2 separate regions of the Homo sapiens genome follow, and region 2 is linked to region 1. Evidence: promoter capture Hi-C in 16 types of primary human blood cells and fetal thymus (Javierre and others, 2016). All regions are on one chromosome and are shown on one strand. The core of a region is centred on a gene start or on the middle of the fragment in contact, and the rest is flanking DNA. Distances in the headings are between cores, read along the strand shown. Region 1 holds the start of PABPC1 (poly(A) binding protein cytoplasmic 1). Region 2 overlaps RRM2B (ribonucleotide reductase regulatory TP53 inducible subunit M2B).

Evidence for each region. The method cuts DNA at HindIII sites, captures the fragments that hold promoters and counts their contacts. A CHiCAGO score of 5 or more calls a contact.
Region 2: a contact is called between a fragment that was not itself captured here and the fragment with the promoter of PABPC1 in region 1, in 1 of 17 cell types (neutrophils). The highest score is 5.5, in neutrophils.

What each region holds. Positions count from the first base shown.
Region 1 is chr8:100,719,217-100,724,163 of GRCh38, reverse strand. It overlaps PABPC1 (poly(A) binding protein cytoplasmic 1), which reads left to right and starts at 2,076. Exons shown (of 15, transcript NM_002568.4): 1 at 2,076-2,773. The coding sequence starts at 2,581. RefSeq lists enhancers at 949-1,449, 1,450-1,950, 2,005-2,837 and silencers at 1,240-1,949, 2,030-2,109, 2,790-2,899. The HindIII fragment of the contact is 6,173 bases long and covers 1-4,947 here.
Region 2 is chr8:102,206,559-102,211,505 of GRCh38, reverse strand. RRM2B (ribonucleotide reductase regulatory TP53 inducible subunit M2B) reads left to right here. Exons shown (of 9, transcript NM_015713.5): 9 at 3,221-4,947. The coding sequence ends at 3,373. Among named protein-coding and RNA genes, the nearest start is that of RRM2B, 30 kb to the left of the region's middle. The HindIII fragment of the contact is 1,350 bases long and covers 1,323-2,672 here.

The sequences.
Region 1 (4,947 bases), core at 827-3,326:
GAATGCTTCCATTTACCATCCAGGGCATCACTGCCTGTCAAGCTGCCCTGGAAGCCTAACAACTGTTTATTTTTTATTTATTTGAGTCTCGTTCTGTCACCAGGCTGGAGTGCAGTGACGCAATCCTGGCTCACTGCAACCTCCGCCTCCCGGGTTCAAGCGATTCTCCTGCCTCAGGCTCCCGAGTAGCTGGGACTATAGGCGCGCGCCACCACGCCCAGCTAATTTTTGTATTTTTAGTAGAGACGGGGTTTCACCATGTTGGCCAGGATGGTCTCGATCTCTTGACCTCGTGATCTGCCCCCCTTGGCTTCTCAAAGTGCTGGGATTACAGGCGTGAGCCACCGCGCCTGGCTACTTTTTGTATTTTTAGTAGAGACGGGGTTTCACCATGTTGGCCAGGCTGGTCTCGAACTCCTGACCTCAAGTGATCAGCGTGCGTCAGCCTCCCAAAGTGCTGGAATTACAGGAGTGAGCCACCGCGCCCGGTCACATTTTATCCTCTTTTTAATAGGAGCAAAATAGTATTTATGTGGGATTCCACTGGTTTAAATTCTAATTAAATGAGACAAGATATAAAGTACTTAATTCCACACCTAGCAATACAGTTGACATCCATTAAAGTTTATTGAATTAAGGAATAAATTGGGCAATCATTTAACTTCTTTGAGACTGTTCCTGTAACAGTAAAGTAAAATTATTACTACTTGCTCCACCTCCCACACCAGATTGCTCTCAGGAACAAATGATAGTATGTTTACGCGAGTGCTTTAAAAACTGTAAAAGCACTTTACTACTTTCGAGTGGAATTTGTATGTTGATTTAATGTCATTCCTAGAGCCGGTTTTTATTACTATCAATTCGTTAAATTTAGCATTCCTATTAAAACCCACTACTAATGTGCAGAATTGTTTTAGTTATTTATAAGGACGTTGTTTTAGACTATTCCTAATTTTGTCTGGTTGCAGGGCTGTGGTGCCATATAGTAGTGATTGTGACAAACCCGTACTTTCAGGAAAAACATTCACTTTTCTCCACTCCTGGTTTCTATCGCCAAGAAATGTCTGGCAGAAGCAGCACAAATCAATGATTCCAGCCTAGCACCTTAAGGTAAGAAGTGACCAAAGACCCCCAACACAGCTATCCCAAATTAAAGCCACTTTGACCAACGACAACGTCCAGTGAAGACACGGAGGAGGGTCGGGCTGGAAAAGAAGAGGACGAGGAACCCGAGGGGCCCTCCCCTCTCTCTCCCTGCCCCCCAACCCCGCGCCGGGAGCTCCAGCGGTGCCGGGGTCCAGCGCGCAGGACGGTTGGGGGGTCCCGGAGCGGGCGGCCAGGACCCGCGCAGCCAGTTGGTGTCAGCGAGCGCCGCGGCCGTTGGGGACTCCAGCTCCCAGCAGGCACCGCTTCTGCGGCCGACGCGCGTGGCGGCGGTGCCGGCTGGGACTCGTAGTGCGGTCCGGGTAGGAGAGAGCAGGGGGCCACGCTGGCTCCATCTACGCACGTTTCGGAAACCGGGCCCGGAGGGGACCACGCCCGCTCACCCGTGCCCGGCGTCCCCCGGAGCTGGGGCTAGAGGAGCCGGGCCGGCCGCAGCGGGAAGAGGCCACAGGCGGCCGCGCACGTGGGGGGTGGTTAGCGCGGAGGAACCCGGAAGCCCTTTGCACCGCCCACCGCCGCGGTGACGGGTTAACGCTCCTCCTGGTGGAGGCAGGGGCGGGCGGGGCGGAAGGCGGGGACGCCTCAGCCAACACCCCCGAGGACCGCCCGCGAGCCGTCCTCCCCACCCCCACGGACGCGACGCAGCGCGGGCTCCGCTTCCCCGGCCGCGGCGCCTGCGCAAAAGCCCCGCCCCTTCGCCCGAGCCCCACCCCCACACCGCAGCCTCCACCGCCGCCACCTCTCCCTTCCTCTCTGCTCTTTCCTCCTGTTTTCTCTTCCCTCCTCCCCCTGGCCTCCGCGTCTCCTCCTACTCCGGCGCTGACGCTCGCGTAGGGGCCCTGGCGTCAGACGCGCGGGGGCGGGGCGAGTGCGGCGCGGGGTATAAGTAGAGGGTGCAGGAGGCGGTGCTTCCCCTTCTCCCCGGCGGTTAGTGCTGAGAGTGCGGAGTGTGTGCTCCGGGCTCGGAACACACATTTATTATTAAAAAATCCAAAAAAAATCTAAAAAAATCTTTTAAAAAACCCCAAAAAAATTTACAAAAAATCCGCGTCTCCCCCGCCGGAGACTTTTATTTTTTTTCTTCCTCTTTTATAAAATAACCCGGTGAAGCAGCCGAGACCGACCCGCCCGCCCGCGGCCCCGCAGCAGCTCCAAGAAGGAACCAAGAGACCGAGGCCTTCCCGCTGCCCGGACCCGACACCGCCACCCTCGCTCCCCGCCGGCAGCCGGCAGCCAGCGGCAGTGGATCGACCCCGTTCTGCGGCCGTTGAGTAGTTTTCAATTCCGGTTGATTTTTGTCCCTCTGCGCTTGCTCCCCGCTCCCCTCCCCCCGGCTCCGGCCCCCAGCCCCGGCACTCGCTCTCCTCCTCTCACGGAAAGGTCGCGGCCTGTGGCCCTGCGGGCAGCCGTGCCGAGATGAACCCCAGTGCCCCCAGCTACCCCATGGCCTCGCTCTACGTGGGGGACCTCCACCCCGACGTGACCGAGGCGATGCTCTACGAGAAGTTCAGCCCGGCCGGGCCCATCCTCTCCATCCGGGTCTGCAGGGACATGATCACCCGCCGCTCCTTGGGCTACGCGTATGTGAACTTCCAGCAGCCGGCGGACGGTGAGCGCCGGGCTCCGCGGTCGGCCGGGCGGGCGGGCGGCCATGAGGCTCGGGCGGCGGCGGCGGGCGGGGTAGGCCGGCGGGCCCGGGGAGGGGGGCGGGAGGGCATGTCACCCCGCGACGGCCGGCGGGAAGGCGCCGGGGTCCCTGGAGCCGCGTTTCCCGAGCCGGCGGGGACCCGCGCTGCCGGCAGCCACACGCCCGGCTACTTCCTCCTTTGCGACCATTTTCTCGGCCTCAGACGCTCTCAAACTTTAGGGTGATGACGCGCCGGGAGGGTGGGTGAGATTCGGTTCCTCCGCGGCGCTCCCGCCAGTGGCCCCGGGATTCTGGGGCGTTGAACGCTGAGCTCCTTCCGTGGGTAAGAGGTGGAGGCGCTCCCACCACCCGGAGCTCCTGCCGGCGCCCCAGCCTGGGGAGGAAGTGCAGTTCTGTGCTCGAAAAATACCACGTGTTGAACCCTGTAACCTCGCAGGCCCGAGGCCTGCTTCTGCTCCTGCTCCTGGCCCAGTCGCCTGGGGGAGCCACCAGGCCTTAGGATAAAGTTCCTGTGGCGATGTGTGGTGTGGTGGTGGTCCTCAGGCTTGTGAGTCCACTTCCCAGAACTCATCAGTGACTGATGGATCTAGGAATGGAATTTACCGGAGACATGCATTTGGGGTTTCCCCTAGATCAAGCATTTCTCTAACATTAAAAGGGCAGAGTGGGAGGAGGGGATGTGGCAGCCGACCACTTTGAAGGCCAGTTTTCTCAGGCAACTTAGACCATTTTTAGTCAAATTTTATCTTAGATTCACAGTACTGGTGGTTTTCGAGTATATTATGTTACCTTCTGAAATAGTTCCTGTCGTTTTGAGGGGCTTTTCTTTATAAAATAGTCAACTTTGGCTATAAAATGTTACTTTAGTGTAATTCCAACTGGACCAGTCTTATCTGTAGCATGCAAGAAGTTCAAGTTTCTCTTTTATTTTTAAAAGTGGCCCATGATACCTGTAAATCTTGGGAAATGACTGAGTACAAAATAACGGAGATTAAATTGAGCTTGAAATTTATGGGGGAAATGCAGCTAACTTTGTGCTTTTATTTTGAAGCTAAACAGTTAACAGAAACACAATTTTGTAAACAGATAATATCTGTGGTCTGTTGAGTTGCTAGGATTTGTCTTTAGATCAATTGGCTTTGAGAAGTCAGCTTAATTCCATTTTACGGCCCAATTTTGCCTTTTTCCCCCCCTACAGGCTGGCCACTTGAATACATGTCAAATAATCGAAATATGAAGAATTCATTTTTATTAGAAAAGGCCTTAAGGGTGGAATTTAAGCTCCTATTAACATTCATTCAGTAGAACTTAGGTTACTGATCAGCTCTTCACTGTGTAAAGTTGATACTGATTTTGGAAGCAGAATATTGAGTGACACAGAGCCAGAAGTTGTAAAACTGCACTGCAGGTTTCCTGCCCTTTTGCTCTGTAAGCAGTAACTCCAAATGTCACTTCATAACAGTTCTTGTCAACCTTAGGCAGGATGTATCAATGCATGTCAGATGGGGGTAGATAACTTTGGGGCAGGTTATCACAACCTAAGAGTTGGTGGAGAAAACATGGGAATGAATTCTAGAGACCACAAAATGAAAACTTGAAAGTGTTACTCTTTCTCAGCTTAACGTTTTTAAATCCAAAAAACAATTTTTACATTTCTTGGGATTCGAAGAGTTGAACTTCAGGTTGCCGTGGTTACAGTGTACAGTATATATTATCAGTCTGTACCAGTAGACCAGTACCCTAACTACTGAAAAGAATATGGCAGTTTTCCATTTGTCTAGTTTCTGTATGTACAATTTACTATCCAATTAATTACTTAAGTGGATTTCTTGTTCTTTTTTAAAAACTTATTGCTACATTGATAGGCAGAATAGCTTCTGAAAGTGACCAGTTTTCAATTTCATAGGAAGAGGTGACTCATTGAAAAATAGCTCAAGCAAAGTCAGCTAAAAAAAAAAAAAAACTAGGGAAGCTGAGTAGGTGTGGTCAATTGATAATGAGCTAACAGCTGATTATCACTATATTCTAGAAACTGGAACTTTCATTTATAAAAAAAGAGGTGGCCGGAAAATTCATCCTGTCAATAACTTTTAAATTTACATTGGCATGGAATTTGTAGGAATTGTTTCAGGGCT
Region 2 (4,947 bases), core at 748-3,247, 1.5 Mb before region 1:
ACTGTAGGTATGTAAAACATGCCACCTCCTGCAGGAGAAGGTCTAAACACAATGTAAAACTTTGTTTTTCCACAGGCTTCAAAATATCTGAGTAAATTCTAAAAAGCAGAAATTATAGAGGCCTTAGATTTTTAATGCAATGAAAGTAGAAACTGATTTAAAAATTGCCAAAAAGCTTAATCTACTTAGAGATTAAAAATATATCCGTTAGGCCAGGTGCGGTGGCTCACACCTCTAATCCCAGAACTCTGGGAGGCTGAGGTGGAAGAATCACTTGAGTCTAGGAGTTTGAGACCAGCCTAGGCAACATGGCGAAATCCTACAAAAAATTAGCCAGGCCTGGTGGCATGCCTGTAGTCCCAGTTACTTGGGAAGCTGAGCTGGGAGGATCACTTGAGCCTGGGAGGCAGAGGTTGCAGTGAGCTGAGATTGTGCCACGGCACTCCAGCCTGAGCAACAGAGTGAGACCCTTTCTCTCTCGCTCTCTCTCTCTCTCTCTCTGCATATACATGTATCTCCTTTAAAATGAGATTTAAAATGAAAATAAAAATTAATTGAAAATATAAAGTAAATGACAATATGATTACTATGTATCAAAACTTGTAGGAGCTGGGCCTTGTGGCTGACTCCTATAATCCCAGCACTTCGGAGGCCAAGGCAGGAGGATTGCTCGACCCCAGGAGTTCCACACTAGTTTCAGCAATATAGCAAGACCCTATCTCTACAAATAAAAATAATAATAAGGCTGGGCACAGTGGCTCATGCCTGTAATCCCAAAATTTTGGGAAGCTGAGGCAGGTGGATCACCTGAGGTCAGGAGTTCAAGACCAGCCTGGCCAACATGGTGAAACCCTGTCTCTACTAAAAATACAACAATTAGCTGGGCATGGTGGTGGGTGCCTGTAATCCTAGCTACTCGGGAGGCTGAGGCGAGAGAATCGCTTGAACCCAGGAGGCAGAGGTTGCAGTGAGCCGAGATTGTGCCATTGCACTCCAGCCTGGGCAAAAAGACCGAAACTCTGTGTCAAAAAAAAAACCCACCAAAAACAAGCCACTTAATTTAGTTTGTTTTTTTGGTCTTGGTTACTTTGTCCATGCCATGAATGACTTAGATCTAATTTTTTGAAAAGTCTTCAGTTCTAACATCTAGTGAGTCTATGGCTATTGGTTCAGTGCCCTTTCACTGTATCTTGCTGTATATTACAGCTCCAATATTCCCTCACTTTTTACACACAATTTCTGATGGAGAATTTCATAGAATTTCACTCAGCCACACCCAGCATATGAGTTTTTGGAAAAAAGATACATAAATATTTAAAGCTTTATTTAAAGATTAAGTCACATAGCATGCAATTCACCCATTTAAAATGTACAATTCAATAGTTTTTAGTGTAGTCACAGAGTTGTACAACCATCATAACAACCTATTTTAGAACATTTTTATCACCCCATAAAGAAACTGTATCCCTATTAGCAGTCAGTCACTCCTCTTTCCTCCCCTTACCCACCTTGCCTTAGGCAACCACTAATCTAATTTTTGTGTCTGTAGATTTGCCTATTCTGCGTCTGTAGATTTGCCTATTCTGCATATTCTATTTCATACAAATGGAATCATATAATATGTGGCCTTTTGTGGTTCTCTTCTTTCCTTAGTGTGTTTTCATGGTGCATTCATGTTGTAGCATGTATCAGTGCTTTATTCCTTTATATGACCAAATAAATAATATTCCACTGTATGGATATACCAAATTTTATTTATCCATTCGATGGACATTTAAGTTGTTTCCTCTTTTGATCTATTGTGAATAATGCTACTATGAACGTTCATTTACACATTTTTGTGTGGACATGTTTTCATATCTCTTAAGTATACACCTAGGAGTGAAATTGCTGGATCATATGGTAACTCCATGTTTAATCATTAGAAGAACTACCAGACTGTTTTCTAAAGCAGCTGCACAATTTTATATTCCCACCCTGTATGAGGGTTCTAATTTCTCCACATCCGCACCAACACTTATTACCTGTTTTTTAAAAAATTATAGCCATCCGAGTAGGTGGGAAGTGGTATCTCATTGTGATCTTGATTTGCATGTCTCTAATGGATAAGGATGCTGAGCATCTTTTCATTTTGTATATCTTCTTTAAAGAAGTATCAGTTTGTCTATTTAGACACTCTGCCCATATTTAAAATTGGGTTACTTGAATATATGTTTATCTGTAGTGTTCATATTTTTTGCTGGGATACTCCTAAATTGAGAAATCCTCTTTTGTTACTCCTTGTGAATCACTGAAATATCCCACAGTTTCCATCAAGCTGTATCTCCAAGTCTGCTTCTTGAATTCTTTTTTTTTTGAAATGGAGTCTTACTCTGTTGCCCAGGCTACAGTGCAATGGCATGATCTTGGCTCACTGCAACCTCTGCCTCTCAGGTTCAAGCAATTCTCCTGCCTCAGCCTCTTGAGTAGCTTGGATTACAGGCATCTGCTACCACGCCCAGCTAATTTTTGTACTTTTAGTAGAGACAGGGTTTCACCATGTCAGTCAGGCTGGTCTCAAACTCCTGACTTCAGGTGATCCCACCTACCTCGGCCTCCCAAAGTGCTGAGATTACAGGCATGAGCCACCATGCTCGGCCTTGTTTCTTGAATTCTGAAGCAGTAAAAAAGCTTCTTGTTAGCATAGTCCCCCTTTTTGTTTGGAGACATCTAGTCACTATGGATAACATTTATTCTGTCTTCCCTGATCATGTTCCCTTAATGACAATTTGTTGATTATCTGTTCTCTTATAAACTAAGAAACATACTTAGAACCACAGTGGATTGTTGCTAATTTAACATTTTATAGTATCATGTATGTCTGACTAATAGTAATATCTATGAAAAATGCTCATGGTGTATTGGATATCTCAAGCTGTGAGAACATTTTCTATTGGTTAGTATTAAATATTTCAATTCCTGAAATAGTTGTGTTTTTTTTTCTATTTATTAGAATACCAGAGATGCTAGTACAGTTTCTTGAGGAGATTAGTGGTTGATCTTGGGTCATCTTAAAATTTGTCAGCCTTGAGTACCTCCAGGGTCTTAGGGGAATGATATGATCTTGTAGCTGACTAGATAGGTTTTGAGAAACCTGACCTCTGTTTTGGTCATCTTTGCTCTTATTGTGGATGTAATTTGATCTCTTCAGAATGTCTAATAATATTTCTTTCCTTTTTAGGTTTTTCAGGCAGAAAATCCTTTTGATTTTATGGAAAACATTTCTTTAGAAGGAAAAACAAATTTCTTTGAGAAACGAGTTTCAGAGTATCAGCGTTTTGCAGTTATGGCAGAAACCACAGATAACGTCTTCACCTTGGATGCAGATTTTTAAAAAACCTCTCGTTTTAAAACTCTATAAACTTGTCATTGGTAAATAGTAGTCTATTTTCCTCTGCTTAAAAAAAATTTTAAGTATATCCTTTAAAGGACTGGGGGTTTGCTCAAAAGGAAATCCAAAACCTATTCTAAACAATTTGCATTTATATAATTTTCCTGTTTAACAACAAGAGTGTGACCTAAATGCTTTTGTCTTGTCACTGAAATAAAAGATGGCATTATGTGGTTAAGAGCATGGGGCGAGGGGTCAGACATGAGTCTAAGGTTCTGCCCTTACTCCAGTGTGTGACCCTTGGCAAGTCAGTTAATCTTGGTAAACCTCGGTGTACTTATCTTTAAAATGGGAGTAATAGTAGGTCCTAAATTCATAGAGTGGATATTAGGATTAGGATGCAAAAATAAATGCTTAACCAACACTACTACTGTTAGCACCACTACTAATTATCATTCATTGATAATATTAATTGCAATGATGTTGTAATAAAATACTCTCATTTCCTTAAAATAATTGTGATTCTAGGTCCTAGGATCTAGAATTAGATCTTTGTATTTTTAATGCTTAGGGGAAGAATATAAGTATCTCCTTAAAAAGAACATAATTCTCATTCACGCAAGAATAAGTTCTTTGAATTCCTTAGTATGTAGTGAAGAAAATTTAGTTGTTAGTTGCTTTGGGAAGCCTACTTATGGAGTGGAAACCAGGAGGTTATCATGGTAGTTGACCTTATAAGAAAAATGATTCTTCTTCAGAAATTAAAAACATAACTATTGCCAGATTTAGCTCTGGAATGTTTAGAATCAGGCTAGAATAGCATTTTCCAAAGAATATTCTAAGAGCTATTAGCTCCTCTAGATATTTTTTTGGGGGAAAAAGGGGATTCTGTGGTCAGATGAGTTTGGGAAATGCTGAACACTTCATTCTTCTTTAGCAAGTACAGTCAGTACATCAAAGACTGAGCAGTTCAGTGGTACATAAATTTATCTCGCCCTGCATATTCCCAACATACTTAACACAGATGTTTTTTACCTGTTAACATCTCACCCAGCTAGTGTTCCTCAGAACAAAGATTGGAAAAAGCTGGCCGAGAACCATTTATACATAGAGGAAGGGCTTATGGACTGAGAAAGGGAGAACATGGTAGGGATTATTGAATCATTTCAAATTTATACCAGCCTGAATAGTGTACCAGCAATTGACTTAGGCTGTGTTTCTTTATGGTTTTAAAACTCTTGAGCTGTTATAAGAGATAGTTCTTTTAATGTGACTATGCAACATGATAGCCAATGGTGAGGGAAAAGGAGGTTTCTCTAGAAGAGTCTGATGAAAGGCCGGGAACCAAGGTTTTTGAGAAGTCTGCCCCTATTTATTTTTAGTAAGTATCAAGAGGTAGCCTGAGCCTAGTTAGAGTTAGACCTGTCTTTGGATGAAGAAGTCTTAATACTGAAATACTGAATTTTTAATACATTATTATTTGGTATTCTGTATACCCCTTCAAGCAGTTGTTTCCCATTCCCAACAAACTGTACTTTATACAATTCTGGATGCTAAAACTTAGAGATTTTCTCTTT